Regions from separate parts of the Homo sapiens genome. Here all the other regions are linked to region 1. Evidence: promoter capture Hi-C in 16 types of primary human blood cells and fetal thymus (Javierre and others, 2016). All regions are on one chromosome and are shown on one strand. The core of a region is centred on a gene start or on the middle of the fragment in contact, and the rest is flanking DNA. Distances in the headings are between cores, read along the strand shown.

Region 1 (3,593 bases), core at 325-2,824:
CAGGCTTGAGCTACCACACTTAGCCAGATTTTGTTTTGAGAATACTTTTTTTGCCCTCACTAAAACAACCTAGCCAAAAAATTTTAATTTAAATCTATGCTTTTTAAAAAAGATTTATTGCTGACATTTATTTCTTAACTTCACAGGTAACTGATTTGATAATTAATAAATAAGTCATTCTCCAAAAGCAGCTGAATAACATGGTTTGTGAAGCATTCTTTATTTTGTGTGCAGGTGTGATTACAGAGTTGTTTTGTTTGGGGCTCATTTTATCATCGTCACAGATGAGGTTGGCGTTCTATAAAATTGCTTTGGTTAAGCAGAACCCTATTGTCTGGCTATTTTGCCAGACCAGCAACCAGCTACCAGCTGTTAGGCTATGTTTTTTCTCATGTAGTTACAATCAAGACTGTCTAGATTGAAATCTCATCTTCCTCACAGGCTATGAATTGAGGCAGTCAACTTCCCTGAGCTTGTTTCCTCTTCTGTAAAATGTAGATAACAATAGCACCTATTTTAGAGGGTTGTTCTGAGGATTAAATAAGTTAATACAAGTGCTTGGAATAGTGCCTGGCACAGGGTGGGTAATTAGGTTTTTTTTTCTCTCTCTCTAATTCACAACACCCTACCTCATTCATTCAACCCTTATTGATTTTTTACACCTTGAGATTGTAGAAATGTATTCTCCTCTTCGAATTACCAGGATCTGAATTAAAAACTCTGACTGAGGAGTGCTTACAAAGCTTATAACGATGGTTGAATTTTAACGATTAATTGCATTTATTAATGGTCAACATGATCACATTTTATCCAGCCCTCTTTTCCCTTGTATGGGTCACGCTAAGTTGAAACAACCAAAACCAAAATAAAAACATATCTAAAATCATACACATTAACTTATATGACCCTCGTTGCTCTTTTTTCCTCCTAAGAGGGAATAGTGTTATCTAGCGCCACGGTTCTTTTCAGTTTTGTTTTGTTTTGTTTTGTTTTTTATACGGAGTTTCGCTCTTGTTGCCCAGGCTGGAGTGAAATGGTGCAATCTCGGCTTACCGCAATCTCCGCCTCCTGTGTTCAAGCGATTCTCCTGCCTCAGCCTCCCTAGTAGCTGGGATTACAGGCATGCGCCACCACGCTCGACTAATTTTGTAATTTTAGTAGAGACGGGGTTTCTCCATGTGGATCAGGCCGGTCTCGAACTCCCGACCTCAGGCCCGCCTTGGCCTCCCAAAGTGCTGGGATTACAGGCGTCAGTTTCTAATTTTAGACTGCGGGATTAAAAATAAACGATTAATCCTCATTTATGTGCTTCATATGGGTGTCGGAATGACGATACATGCTAACACACGTGAAAAAATTTACATTTCAGATCCTTTCAGAAACGCAAGGCAATATTAAGTAGTAGCATATGCCCAAGGGCGAGGGGCGGGTCGGCGGTGGCTGGCTCTCCAATACACCACAGAGTATTTTGGCAACGAGAGTAATTTTGACACTCTGAGGCTTCCGTAGCATAGCTCGCTTTAGGAACCGCTAAGGTGTCGCCTGCCTAGAGTCCCATGCGCTATTTCCGGTCATACCCGGAAACACGAGTCCAAGCTGCAGCTGGCAGGGATTGCGGGGTGCCGGCCGTCTGAGTTTTTTTAAAACTGCTCGCCGCGAAGTCTGTCTGCAGCCAAAATGTCCAACAGAAACAACAACAAGCTTCCCAGCAACCTGCCGCAGTTACAGAATCTAATCAAGCGAGACCCGCCGGCCTACATCGAGGAGGTGGGAGTGCGGCGCGGCAGACGCTAGAGGCCGGATAGTGGATGGTTGAGACGCCGGTGCGGGAAAGCATGGAGTGGGGCTGGGATCCAGGCTCGCCGCCTATTCTTCTGTTAGGTTCAGGGGTCCCTCCAGAGGAGAGAAGGGGTTGGGGACGGGACATGCCTTAGGGTTCGTTCCCCACCTCTTGAAAATCTGTTGCCCCTTTGGATTTTCTACCTGCCCTGCTGCCGCTGAAACACCTTTAAAACCTCATTTTGTTTTAAGATATTTTTCTTCGTCCGCACGGAAGTGGAGAGAGAAATGGGCCGCACCCAACCACCAACTTCCACGCGGATTTCTCAGCCTCTTTTCAGAAATCCCAAACTTGAATTAGTCGGTAACCTTTGATGAATCGTATGTTAGAATGCTTTCGATTGACGTCCGTTTCTGAGAGCAGGCTGTGTACCCTGGACTGTGCCAGGAAAGGGGGGGGGGGGGTTTCTCAAGCACAACGGACAGACTCGGGAGCTTAGTATATTTAGTTAAGCCAGGATTCAAACTTACCGGAGACTGGCATGACTCGGATGTCAGAATTTGCTTCGGGAAAAGATTAGGTTGAAAAATTAGGCCCTCATTGTGATGGGCTTTGTGTACTGACCTCATGTAAGTTGTGAACATTAGGGGTGTTTGAACCAAGTACCGACAAAACGAAAGTGGTTTTTGATATATTAATCTGACAGGTGCTTCCTTCAGACACTCATTTATCAGACGGGCATTAAACAGGTATCTCTGCTAGGCATTTGCTGCAATTACATGTTTGTGCTTCTACCAGATTGTGATTTGTTCAGTGGCTAACACAATTACTTATTTTTTCATTGCCCTTCTCACTTCCCTCCTCCCCTAAATTTTCACATATATGTATTTTATGAGTGCTTTTTAACACATGGCAATCTCAGTGGCTTAGGTCACCAGTAGAGAAAGCCTCTCCAAGGATCAAGGTAGTGGAAATAAAGAGTAGGAAACAAGTACAAGAAGTTAAGTAACATAGGCAAGGCTTTGAGATGCTTAAAGCATTGTATAGCCATTCGCAAAGAAAGTGGTAAGTTGAGAGTCTATATAATTCCGTTAGATAACTCCTGCTGCTGACTGTTGTTAACCAGTTGTGTAACCGAAGCAGGTTAATCGCTGAGCCTATGTGGGTATTTTAATATGTAAGAAGGGGGTAATAACTACTTCTTTAATTCACTTAAGTATATATGCAAAATCACATATAACTACTGTGTGTTGTTATTCTAGGTAGGCGTTGGGGTACAGTAATGAATAAGACAGATAAGAAAGCATTCTTCTCTTGGACTTACATTCAAGTGAGTGTAGACTTATTATGGTAGAGATTATGAAGAAAATAAAACTGGATGGGAATAGGTTAGAATTGGAGGCTTCTGATTTAGACCCCGTAAACAGGGAAGGTGGCTCTGCAATGATGATATTGAGCCAGGCAGGTAAACATCATTTTAGGTACAAGGAATAGAAAGTGCAGAAGCTACTGGTGGAAAAAAAGCAGAGAAGAAGCCAGTGTAGCTAAAGTGTAGTCAGCATAGAAGAGGGCAGTGGAAGATGATGTAGGAAATGCAGGCAGGGGTCAGCTTATTCAGAGCCTCTTAGGCCCTGTTAACGAGTTTAGATTTCACTCTGAGTGCCTCGGGGAGTGATTGAAGAGTTTTAAGCAGGAGAGTGACATGATCTGACATATTTTTTTTAAGAATTTACTCTGGAAGTTACATGTGGAATGGCTTGTAGAGGAGCAACACTGGAAGCAGGGTAACTAATATAATGGATCTCAGAATAAC
Region 2 (3,593 bases), core at 497-2,996, 230 kb before region 1:
TTTATTTATGAAAGAACTGGAAATGCTTACAACTGTTGTAAAGTTAACTGAATAGCAGTCTTCTCTGAGGTTTGATGAGTATAGGAGGCTTCTAGGTAATCATTTCAGACTCTCAGGATATGTGGTGAGTGCAGTGGTTAGAAGTCATGCGGGGACCAGGTTAGTGGTGAGGGGCGGGGCTTATTTTTACCCTTTCCATAGTCTAATATCTAAGCCCCCCATTCCCCATTCCACTACTGCACCCCTATCTCTGGCCAAATATCTTCTCCCCACCACTCCAGGCTGACAAAGTCTGCCTCTACCCTCAGACAGTCCCCTCTTCACTCTCCATCCCCCCTTTCTCCCCTCAGAAAGAGATGCTGAGTAAACCTGGCTTTCTCGTTTATACAGCTTCTCCCCATGGAACACATCATTAAAGAATAACTGTGACCTCTCGTGTTGTTTATTTAGCCCTGATTTCACAACATGCAGGAAATCAGACAGCCTTGATATTTCACAATATGCTGGCTTTGCCACAGTGAGTTTAAACCCAACCCAAGCTTCATTTGCTTCTAGAAAGTACCATCAAAGTACCTCAAGTGAGAACAGACTAGAATACATTTCACGTCAGAATATACATTAGATATATTGCAAAGTATATTTTTGGCCACCGGACTGGCAACTCCTTCCTGGCTCTCCATTCTAGTTCAACATCAGGTTCAGGCAGAGGCATTGTCTCCCACACACACTAATTCCAACCTGTGCCCCTCCTGGATGCCCAGGTCACCATGAGTATTCCAGTGCCATTGCTTATTTTTATTTTTATTTTTTGCAATTTTCACTGCTTTCCTTTTACTCTTAATAAGCATGAGGCCAGAAGTCCCAAGCAGTGGCTAAGGGGTTAAGAGCCTGGCTAAAGCATCTGACTGACTTGGATTTAGTAATACCTTTGCTTCCTACTGGCCAGTAACATTGGACTACTTAGTCAATCTCTGTGTGCCTCAGTTTCCTTATCCTTAAAATAGAATGTCTACATCATAGGGCATTGTAAGGAGTAAATGAAGTAATGCAAGCCCACTGTCTAGCATAGTGCTTGTACAAGTACTATGTACAAGTAGCAGATAATATTGCTGACATATTCACCCTTTTTGCCCACTATATTTTTCTCCTCTTTGATCTCCTGACTCCTCGCCCTCCAACCACACATTCTATTAGTTAGACAACACTACGCTTGTGTTTTCAGGAAAGGGAAGAGAAAAAGGTGAATAGGATATCTCCTCCTAGTTCCGTGTTTCAATAAGTCTGCATTATTAGGGGAACAAAAAGGAAAATAAGAATTTGAAGAGGGGAATTCTCATTTTCCCATAACCCCAAACAAAATAAAAACCAAACCAAACCAAAACAAACTGGAAAAGATTCCCCTAGTTGGGGGTGCAAAGATGATAATGAGGAAGCCATGAGGTCTTCTTGATCGGAGGAGGCGGTAGACAGGGACATGGGTAACTTCACAGAGAGTCCCTGTGGCCTGGCACAGGTGCATGTGATATAATATAAATGGTATATGAGCTCTCCTCTGGGATATGTAAGCCTATCTGCATAAAGCAGTTCTGTAATGTAAGAACTTTGGAATGATGGGTAGGGGAGGAGGGAGGAGAGAGTAATTTTTTCTTATGGAGGCTGTATTGCTCAGGATTTAGGATGCCCCACAAACATTTAGGAATAACATATGTCAAATCACTAGGGTGTGATGGTACATTTTATAGATCACCTTCAATAAGAAGAAAGCCAAGACTTTTAGAAGTATCTTGGAGCCTGACCTGTCCCAAAGTAGGCAAGGCCTAGGGCCATTTCCATTCAAACTCCTGGGATCAAGTGATTCTCCTGCCTTGGCTTCCCAAAATGCTGGGATTACAGGCATGAGCCACCTGGCCCGGCCTGTGGTGTATTTTAAATGTTTATATTTAACACATTAACACTTTGAACATAAAAGTATACAATGACTACATCATTAAACTCATTTGAGTATAGTATCAACATTCTAAATTTAAGGTAGAGCCCAAAGAGCCCTCTTGCTTCCCCTCGATAGCCCTTAGAGTCTGTGAAGAAAGCTCTTTTTCTAAGTCCCGAATGATTGCATAATTTCAACAGGCACCAGCAATCATTCATTAAGTGTACTTGTTCTTCTCAGATAAAGTCTTCTGATTTTAGGTATAGAGAGATCACCGTATCTCCTTGCCACAGCATCAGTCTCCTCATTTTCCGCCCTTGTCTGTTTGTGTTGCTATAACAATACCTGAGATTGGGTAGTGAAAAGAGGTTTATTTGGCTCATGGTTCTGCAGGCTGGACAAGACGCACGGCACAGACATCTGCATTGGATGAGGGCCTCAGGCTGCTTCCACTCCTGGGAAGGCAGAAAGGGAGCACACCTGTGTGAGGCACATGGGCAGAGAGGAAGCTAGAGAGAGAAGGAGGAGGTGCCAGCTCTTTTCAACAACCCGCTCTCTGACAACTCACTCATGCCTGAGGGAGGCATTAATCTATTCATGAACAATCTCTCCTCAGGACCCAAACACCTCCCATTAGGCCCCACCTCCAACACTGGGGATCAAATTTCAACATGAGATTTGGAGGGAACACAAATCCAAACCATAGCAGAGAAGTCACCAGGAAGAGTCCTGATTGTCTCCCTGCCCTGGCATCAGCCTCCTCATCTAAACTCTGGGAGCAGTAACCCCTTCCCAAGCTGTCTGCCCCTCCAGAGTGTGTTCAGGGTTATTAGTGGCTGGCAAGCAGGGGCTACTCCCTGGATGAGAGGGCAAAGTCTCTCATAGGGTGAGATGATCCTGTGGCAATAAACTAACAATGCCAATTAGCGGTGCAGACATGTCCTATAGATCAGAAATGAGGAGGAAGTCCCAAAGGGCATTGAGAAACTTAAATCTGGATTTTGGGGCTTTGTGTCAAAAGCTTCTGAACATAGCTGTGGGTAGAGAAGATGGAACTGAACAGAAAGACAGCCAGGCCAGCTGCTAAAAAGTTATGCCAGCCTCGGTGATAAGACAGAGATTACTGTGGGATCACAGACTGCTATTTTGGGAACATACATTATTTTCTTAAAAGCTGTTTATATTTTCTGTAATTAGGTCCTTTTTGTTCTGTCTTATGTTAACACATTTAAAAATGCTAGCCTGGTCAGCTGTGTTAAGAAGAACCAAGAAAGAGATTTTCATTCGGCTTGTCCAGAGTTTTAAAGGGGAAGTGGCTTACTAACCGCCTGACATAGTGGAAACAGAGTGAGATCCTCAGAGAGCAGGTAAACTGAGGGCAACTTGAGCTGTAAACCCTTGTTTAGAAACTCTCCCACACTAAGATACATTTATCAAATTTGTCTCCATCTCTCCATCCCCACAGTCTGTTACTGTCCTGGTGGCCCAGACAAGAGAGAAGAAGGGACCTCAATGAACAATGAAAAGGAAGAGTACCCTGGGATTGGTGGTCCAGGGATGGGAGGAGTGGGTACCTATGGAGTTTGCCCTCCAGAATGGAGCCCGCAAACAGAAAATCTGATTGTAGCAGTCAGAGAGTAGGGGGTGGAAGTTCAGTGTGAGCATG
Region 3 (3,593 bases), core at 381-2,880, 190 kb before region 1:
GGATTTTATACTCTCAAAATTCATAAATTGACACCAGAAATCAATAGACTGGCAGCCTACTGTGATTTCAGTGGGCTCTGTTTATAATGGTAATTCTACCTAATAACGACACCTATTCTACATCTATTCTATACTGAGACCCATGAGACTTTCTTTTTTTTTAAATTAAATTAATTTATTTATTATTAATTTTTTTTGAGACAGGGTCTTGCTCTGTCGCCCAGGCTGGAGTGCAGTCAGTGGCTCCATCACAGCTCACTGAAGCTTCTACCTCCTGGGCTCCAGGGATCCTCCTGTGTCGGCCAGGGACTCCAGGCGTGAACCACTGTTCCTGGGCTGGCCCAGTAAACATTCTAATTCACCTACACCAACCCCTGCCGACTCTCCCACCCTAACCCCTAGGTGACCGCTCCATATGCAGCTGGACACTGATGATGGACCCAGGACCTAGACAGTATGAGGTCCCTGCCACCTAGTCCCAGGGGTGTAGGTCGGGTTTATAATGAGCCTCTGGCCCTGCTTAGGCGGAAGGTAGCGCCACCTTGTGGCCAAAGATGCCCACATGTTTACAAGAGCTTTTCCCCTTTTGTGGTGTCTGGATAACTCAGAGCCTGCAAATGGTCTCTTTGTAAATATTACACTTACAAAATGCAGTACTGGGAAAGGACAGAGAAGAGGCTTTGTCTTCCATATGCAGCCAGAAAGGAGCTCACTGCCTGATTTTTCAGCTATTTAATCTCAACCTTTACATTTATATTTCCAACCCCCTTTGCTATGGGGTAGTAGGAGAGAGTGGATGGAGGTGCTTTGGAGGGGATGCTGCTGTCTTAATATACCTCTGCTCCGCAGACTGTCATAGAGTGGTCCCAGGTGCACTTCCTCAGGGAGATCATCGAGGCCATGTTGAAAGCCTATCAGCAGAAGCTCTTTGTGACTCACACAGTTGACGAATTGCTCTGGGGCTACAAAGATGAAATCTTGTCCCTTATCCATGTTTTCAGGCCCGATATCTCTCCCTATTTTGGCCTATTCTATGAGGTAAGTAGATTTTTCTTTTCAGAACCTCTTTTTTTAGCTGACAGTGGGTTGGGGCACCCCAAGCCAGATTAACTTTGAGTTTCTTCTAGAAATTGCCTAGAGTTAAGTTATCTTATAGAGTGTGTGAAAAATGGAGTGTTTTTTGGAAAGAAAAAAAACTTGAGGCCGGGTGCGGTGGCTAATGCCTGTAATTCCAGGACTTTGGGAGACCGAGGTGGGTGGATCATTTGAGGTTAAGACTTTGAGACCAGCCTGGCCAACATGGCAAAACTCTATCTCTACTAAAAATACAAAAATTAGCCAGCTGTGGTGATGTACACCTGTAATCTCACCTACTCAGGAGACTGAGGCAGGTAAGTTGCATGAACCCAGGAGGCAGAGGTTGCAGTGAGCTGAAATTACACCACTGTACTCCAGCCAGGGTGACAGAGCAAGACTCTGTCTAAAAAAGCCAAAAAAAAAACAAAAACAAAAACAAAAACAAAAACCCTGGAGTGCAGTGGATAGTTGGGAAGTTGGTAAAAGATAAAATAACCCCAGGAAGAGGATTAGATTAGGGGTGTGCTCTGGGATTGTGATGGGTCTCCTCAGCTTTAAATTTGTAGCTGTTTTCTGGCTCTGCCTGTTCAAGAGTCTTACCCTCTTCATGTAATCCTGTAGCATTCCAGTTTTTATGGCAAACAGCAATAATTGTGTCCCTGGGCCTTCAAGGTTATATAAAACGTAGAAATTGTTAAAATAGAATTGTGAGCAAGTTTTAAAAAATTATATGTGTGAGAGACAGGAGTCCTAAAAGTAGGGCCTCACCAACTCTGAATGCATCATTCGGGAGAAGCAGACCAGGCAGGAGTTCCCTAGAGGGTCCTGTCTCAGAGGAATACAGCTTCACAGGACCAGAGGAAGCACAGATTTCCTGTCAAGCCCTGACTGAACCTCCCTTCTAGAAATAATTTCAGGAGAGCCTCCTACTGAGAGATATTATGCAAAGGTTCCCTCGAGGCCCTTTTGTTCCCAGTGGCTTCAATCCATCAGCCAAGTAGATCTTGTTGCTAATATCTCACTGTTTCTCAGATAATTTGCATTATATAACTCACTTTTTTTGTTTTTACATCATTGAATTCACCAGACTGATAGCCACACTATCTTATGTGGTTGTGAGGATTTCATGAGATGATTCATGCAAAAATTTTAGAACAGAGCCAGGAATATTATACTCAACAATTGTTCACTCCTATTATTATAGAGGAGCTACTACCTGTGCTATTTCTGAGAAATCATAGCTACATGCCCAAATAAAGAATTTTAGGAATGTAGTGTCTGTATGTGCCCTTAAGAAGTATAACTTGGAGAGAATATACAATTGAAGAAACCTTAATTGAAAATAGGGCTATATTAATACCGTCTTCTTCCAGTGTAGCTATTCTGGTATAATTGGTCCTGGTCCTGGACTTAGGCTTTTAAATTTGTTATTATTGAGAAATAATTCACTTACTATAACATTTACCATTTTAAAATGTACAATTCAGTAGTCCTTAGTATAGTCACAAGGTTGTGCAACCATTACTGCTAATTCCAGAACATTTTCATTATCCCAAAAAAGAAACTGCATACTCTCTTAGCAGTCACTCCTATTCCTGTCTTACTCTCCCAGGCCCTGGCAACCACTAATCTACTTTCTGGCTCTGTGAATTTGCATATTCTGGACATCTCATATAAATGGAGTCATATAATATATGCCCTTCTGTGTCTGCTTTTTAAATTTAGTGTAATGTTGTCAGGGTTCATCCATGTTGTAGCATGTATCAGTGTTCCATTCCTTTTTATAACTGAGGAATATTCCGTTGTGTAGATATACCACATTTTGCTTATCCATTTATCAGTTGATGGACATTTGGGTTGTGTTCCTTCTTGGCTATTATTAGAAGTGCTGCTATGAATATTTGTTCATACAAGCTTTTATATGAACATTGGGTATATACCTTGAAGTGGAATTCTCTTGAGTATATACATAGGTGTGGAATTTTGGAGTCCTATGAATTCTGTTTAACTTTGTTAAGAACTGACAAACTGTTTTCTGCAGTGACTGCAACATTTTTATATTCCTGCTAGCAATGTATAAAGGTTCCAATTTCTCCACATCCTCACCAACGCTTACTATTTTTCTTTTTTTTTTTTTTAATTGCCCTCCTAGTGGGTGTGAAGTGGTATCTCATTGTGGTTTTGATTTGCATTTCCCTAATGACTAATGATGCTGAACATGTTTTTATGTGCTCTCTGGCCATTAGTATATTTTCTTTTCAGAAATGTCTCTTCAAATCCTTTGCCCATTTTAAAATTGAGCTCCTACTTTTTAAAACCATAAAATAATAATATGGTTAATATAGTATTTAGCAAAATAGTCACTATTTTCTGGTCCTGGTTCAGTCTTGTGTAGCAGTTAGGCCCTAGTAGGACAGTTAGATGAAGATTAAATTTTTTAGTTACTGTATCAGTTAGGGTTGCCAGAGAAACTGAATCAAGAGGGTGTATATGTAGAGATGAGAAAGAGGGAGAGA
Region 4 (3,593 bases), core at 336-2,835, 130 kb before region 1:
TTTTGTAATATAAAACATGGCCACCTAATTTTGTCCTTTCAGCATGGCCTGGCATTGGAAAGTTTCTGTAAAAGGTGATGTGTGCAGGTGGATGTGCTAAAATATGTCTTGCACAATCTTAACCTCTTTCTTGTAACATGTAAATGTAAGCCAGTGGCATAGAATGATTAATTATGATAGAGACAATTATGGGATTAATTCTGATTGGGATGCTTTAATAAAATAGTGAGATTTTAACCTACCCTGTAAGGTTAAGACTTCCTAAGGCAGAATAGTGGGATTTCAGTCAGGTAAAACAGCAAGTCAAAGATCCAGAGGCATAAAAATGTATCCTGCTGCATAATTAATATCATTCCTTTTCCTCTGCACTCTGATTACTCCCTCCAAGTATTCTGTAACAGTTAATGTTGAAATGTACTGTACTTGCTGTCAGTAGTTAGATACAGGGCTAATTGTCTATTAAGACACCCCCTAGATATCATCTTACACATCTTAACTTTTTCCACTCAGACCTGGTTGTTGGCTGTATTCCATGTTACTTCAGATTCCTTAATTATTTCTGAAGTATGTGTTTTCTTTTTTTCCTTTTGAGATAGGTCTCTCCCTCTCTCTCTGTCTCTCTCTCTCCCTCCCCCTCCCCCTCTCTCCCTCTCTCCCTCTCTCCCCCTTTCTCCCTCTTCTCCCTCTCTCTCCCTCTCCCTCTCTCCCCCTCTCTCCCTCTCTCCCCCTCTCCCCCTCTCCCCCTCTCTCCCTCTTCTCCCTCTCTCTCCCCCTCTCTCCCTCTTCTCCCTCTTCTCCCTCTCTCCCTCTCCCTCTCTCCCTCTCTCCCCCTCTCTCCCTCTCCCCCTCTCCCCCTCTCCCCCTCTCCCTCTCCCTCTTGCCCATGCTGGAGTGCAGTGGCATGATCACGGCTCACTGCAACCTCAAACTCCTGGGCTCAAGTGATCCTCCCACCTCAGCCTCCTAAGGAGCTGGGATTACAGGCATGTAGCACTACACCTGGTTAATTTTTTATATTTTTTGTAGAGACAAGGTCTTGCCATTTTGCCCAAGCTTGTCTCAAAATCCTGGTCTCAAGCACTCCTCTTGCCTTGGCCTCCCAAAGTGCTAGGATTACAGGAGTGACCCACTGTGCCCAGCCGTGTGTGTGTGTGTGTGTGTGTGTGTGTGTGTGTGATGGAGTCTCACTCTGTTTTTTGTTTTTTGTTTCTGTGAGATGGAGTTTCACTCTGTTGCCCAGGCTGGAGTGCAGTGGCACGATCTCGGCTCCATCCCCCAGGTTTAAGTGATTCTCCTGCATCAGCCTTCCAAGTAGCTGGGATTACAGGTGCATGCCACCACACCCAGCTACTTCTTTGTATTTTTAGTAGAGACGGGGTTTCACTATGTTGGCCAGGCTGGTCTTGAACTCCTGACCTTAAGTAATTTGCCTGCCTCGTCCTCCCAAAGTGGTGGGATTACAGGTGTGAGCCACCACGCCCAGCTTATTTTTTCTATGTATTGCCTCATTGCTAAATTTCCTAGAGCTCTAAAGATATCTTTGCATGATTCTTTTAAAAAAATTTTAGGTATGTAAAAAGGGAAGAAATATAAAGCACAGATTTATAGGGAAAGAGTTTATATTTTGAGAGATGAATCTCAGGCTTATCCCAAGATTAGAATTTCCATACAGGTGTAACTGATAAATAGTTGTGATATTTGATTAACCCTCCCCCCCCCAATTTTTTTTTAAACAGATCATATCTGAAGATATTAGTGAGCTACAAAAGAATCAAACTACATCTGTAGCCAAAATTGCACAATACAAGAGGAAACTCATGGATCTTTCCCATAGAACTTTACAGGTAGTAATTTGGATTTTCCCCCCCAGTGTTTATAAGACTATGTGTGTGAAATAATGTACTAAATATAGATTTTTAAAATAGAAAAAAAAATACTAAAATGAAAGAATAATGTGAAATTACAAGTACCGAATTCTTTCAGTAAAACTTTGAAATTGGAAAACAAGTCTCATAGGTTTGAGTGAGGAGAATAAAAATATCCTAAAGTTCGTATTTTAGTGACAGTTTGAGGGAAAGCAGTGAAGAAATAAAGCATCTTAGTGCAAGGGAAGCTTCTGTGAGATTATTGATGTCTCATAAATTTCATAAAATAGTTTCATAAAATAGTTCAGAAAATTTTTTGAGTGCTAGAAAAAGGAGTGTAACCATAATGGTCGAAAAACAATAGAATTTCCAAATTAACAGGAGGAATTAAAAGAATAATAACAACTGAAATTATAAACTATCATGAAAACAGAAATATTACATACCAGAACCAGTGGGAAACAGCAAAATCTGTACTCAGAGGAAAACTTACAGCCATAAAAAATTCTCATTTAAAAAAATCAAATGTGAAAAATAAAGGAACTTAGTACTCATGTTAAATTAGAAAAGGAATATCAAGATAAGCCAAAAGAAACTAAAAAGAAAGAAAGATAAATGTGAAATTAGTGAAAGACTAAAAAATGTAATAGTGGAAAGAATAAATTAAAAAACTGTTTCTTTGAAAAGACCGTTAAAATTACTAAGCATCTCATCAGCTGGAAGAAGGGAAAAACAGAGTAAAATATACAAAATTAGTAGTGGGAAAAGAGGCATCACCGTAGATATACAAAACAGAATAAGAAGATACTGCATGGGCCGGGCACAGTGTCTCACTCTTGTAATCCTAGAACTTTGGGAGGCCGAGGTGAGTGGATTGCCTGAGCTCAGGAGTTCAAGACCAGCCTGGGCAACACGGTGAAACCCCATCTCTACTAAAATACAAAAAAATCAGCCAGGCATGGTTGCTTGTGCCTGTAGTTCCAGTTACTTGGGAGGCTGAGGCACGAGAATTGCTTGAACCTGGGAGGCGGAGGTTGCAGTGAGCCGAGATCACGCCACTGCACTCCAGCCTAGGCTACAGAGCAAGACTCCATCTCAGAAAAAAGGAGAAAAAAAAAAGAAGATGCTGCATGTACTTTAGGGTAACAGATTTGGAACTCAGAGGAAGTTTTATTTTGATTTTTCTATGAAAATGAAAATTACCAAAATCTACAGAGAAGTAAGAAAACAAATACCACAGAAACAGTTGGAAAAATGAAAGATGAAACATGAAAAAGGCCTTAGGGACAGATAGTTTCATTGCCAAATTTTGTCTAACCACAAAAGAGCTAATCCAGTGTTATTTTGATTATTCTAGACAATTGAGGAATAATTTATACAGCTTCATTTGTTCTTTTTTCACAGCTTAAGATAATTTGCATACCATACTATTTACTCATTTAAAGTGTACAATTCAATGGCTTTTAGTATATTCAGAGACTTGTATAACCGTTATTACCACAATCAATTTTAGAACATTTCTGTCACCCTACAGACAAATCCCGTACCCATTGTCAGTCACTTCCCCGTTTCACTGCAAATCTGTCAGTCCTATGCAACCAGTTTTGCCTATATGGGTTTGCCTGTTCTGGAAACCTCATATAAATGGAATCATAACGATATATGGTCTTTTGTGACTGGCTTTTACTTAGCATAATGTTTTCAAAGTTCAACTGTGTTGTACCATGT

Evidence for each region. Contacts are between HindIII fragments. The CHiCAGO score rates a contact against its expected background, and 5 or more counts as called.
Region 2: a fragment that was not itself captured here is called in contact with the fragment with the promoter of SDAD1 in region 1 in 2 of 17 cell types (non-activated CD4 T cells and monocytes); the score reaches 6.2 in non-activated CD4 T cells.
Region 3: a contact is called between a fragment that was not itself captured here and the fragment with the promoter of SDAD1 in region 1, in 1 of 17 cell types (total CD8 T cells). The highest score is 5.6, in total CD8 T cells.
Region 4: a fragment that was not itself captured here is called in contact with the fragment with the promoter of SDAD1 in region 1 in 1 of 17 cell types (M2 macrophages); the score reaches 6.9 in M2 macrophages.

The regions. Positions count from the first base shown.
Region 1 is chr4:75,988,926-75,992,518 of GRCh38, reverse strand. SDAD1 (SDA1 domain containing 1) reads left to right here and starts at 1,574. Exons shown (of 22, transcript NM_018115.4): 1 at 1,574-1,767. The coding sequence starts at 1,678. All of the region lies in intron 1 of SDAD1-AS1 (SDAD1 antisense RNA 1), which reads right to left. The HindIII fragment of the contact is 958 bases long and covers 746-1,703 here.
Region 2 is chr4:76,216,368-76,219,960 of GRCh38, reverse strand. It overlaps a transcript of SCARB2 not described here and a transcript of FAM47E not described here. Among named protein-coding and RNA genes, the nearest start is that of SCARB2, 4.3 kb to the right of the region's middle. The HindIII fragment of the contact is 2,409 bases long and covers 542-2,950 here.
Region 3 is chr4:76,176,962-76,180,554 of GRCh38, reverse strand. SCARB2 (scavenger receptor class B member 2) reads left to right here. Exons shown (of 12, transcript NM_005506.4): 4 at 850-1,038. Among named protein-coding and RNA genes, the nearest start is that of NUP54, 30 kb to the right of the region's middle. RefSeq lists a silencer at 428-487. The HindIII fragment of the contact is 2,727 bases long and covers 267-2,993 here.
Region 4 is chr4:76,122,900-76,126,492 of GRCh38, reverse strand. NUP54 (nucleoporin 54) reads left to right here. Exons shown (of 12, transcript NM_017426.4): 9 at 1,737-1,844. Among named protein-coding and RNA genes, the nearest start is that of NUP54, 24 kb to the left of the region's middle. The HindIII fragment of the contact is 1,060 bases long and covers 1,056-2,115 here.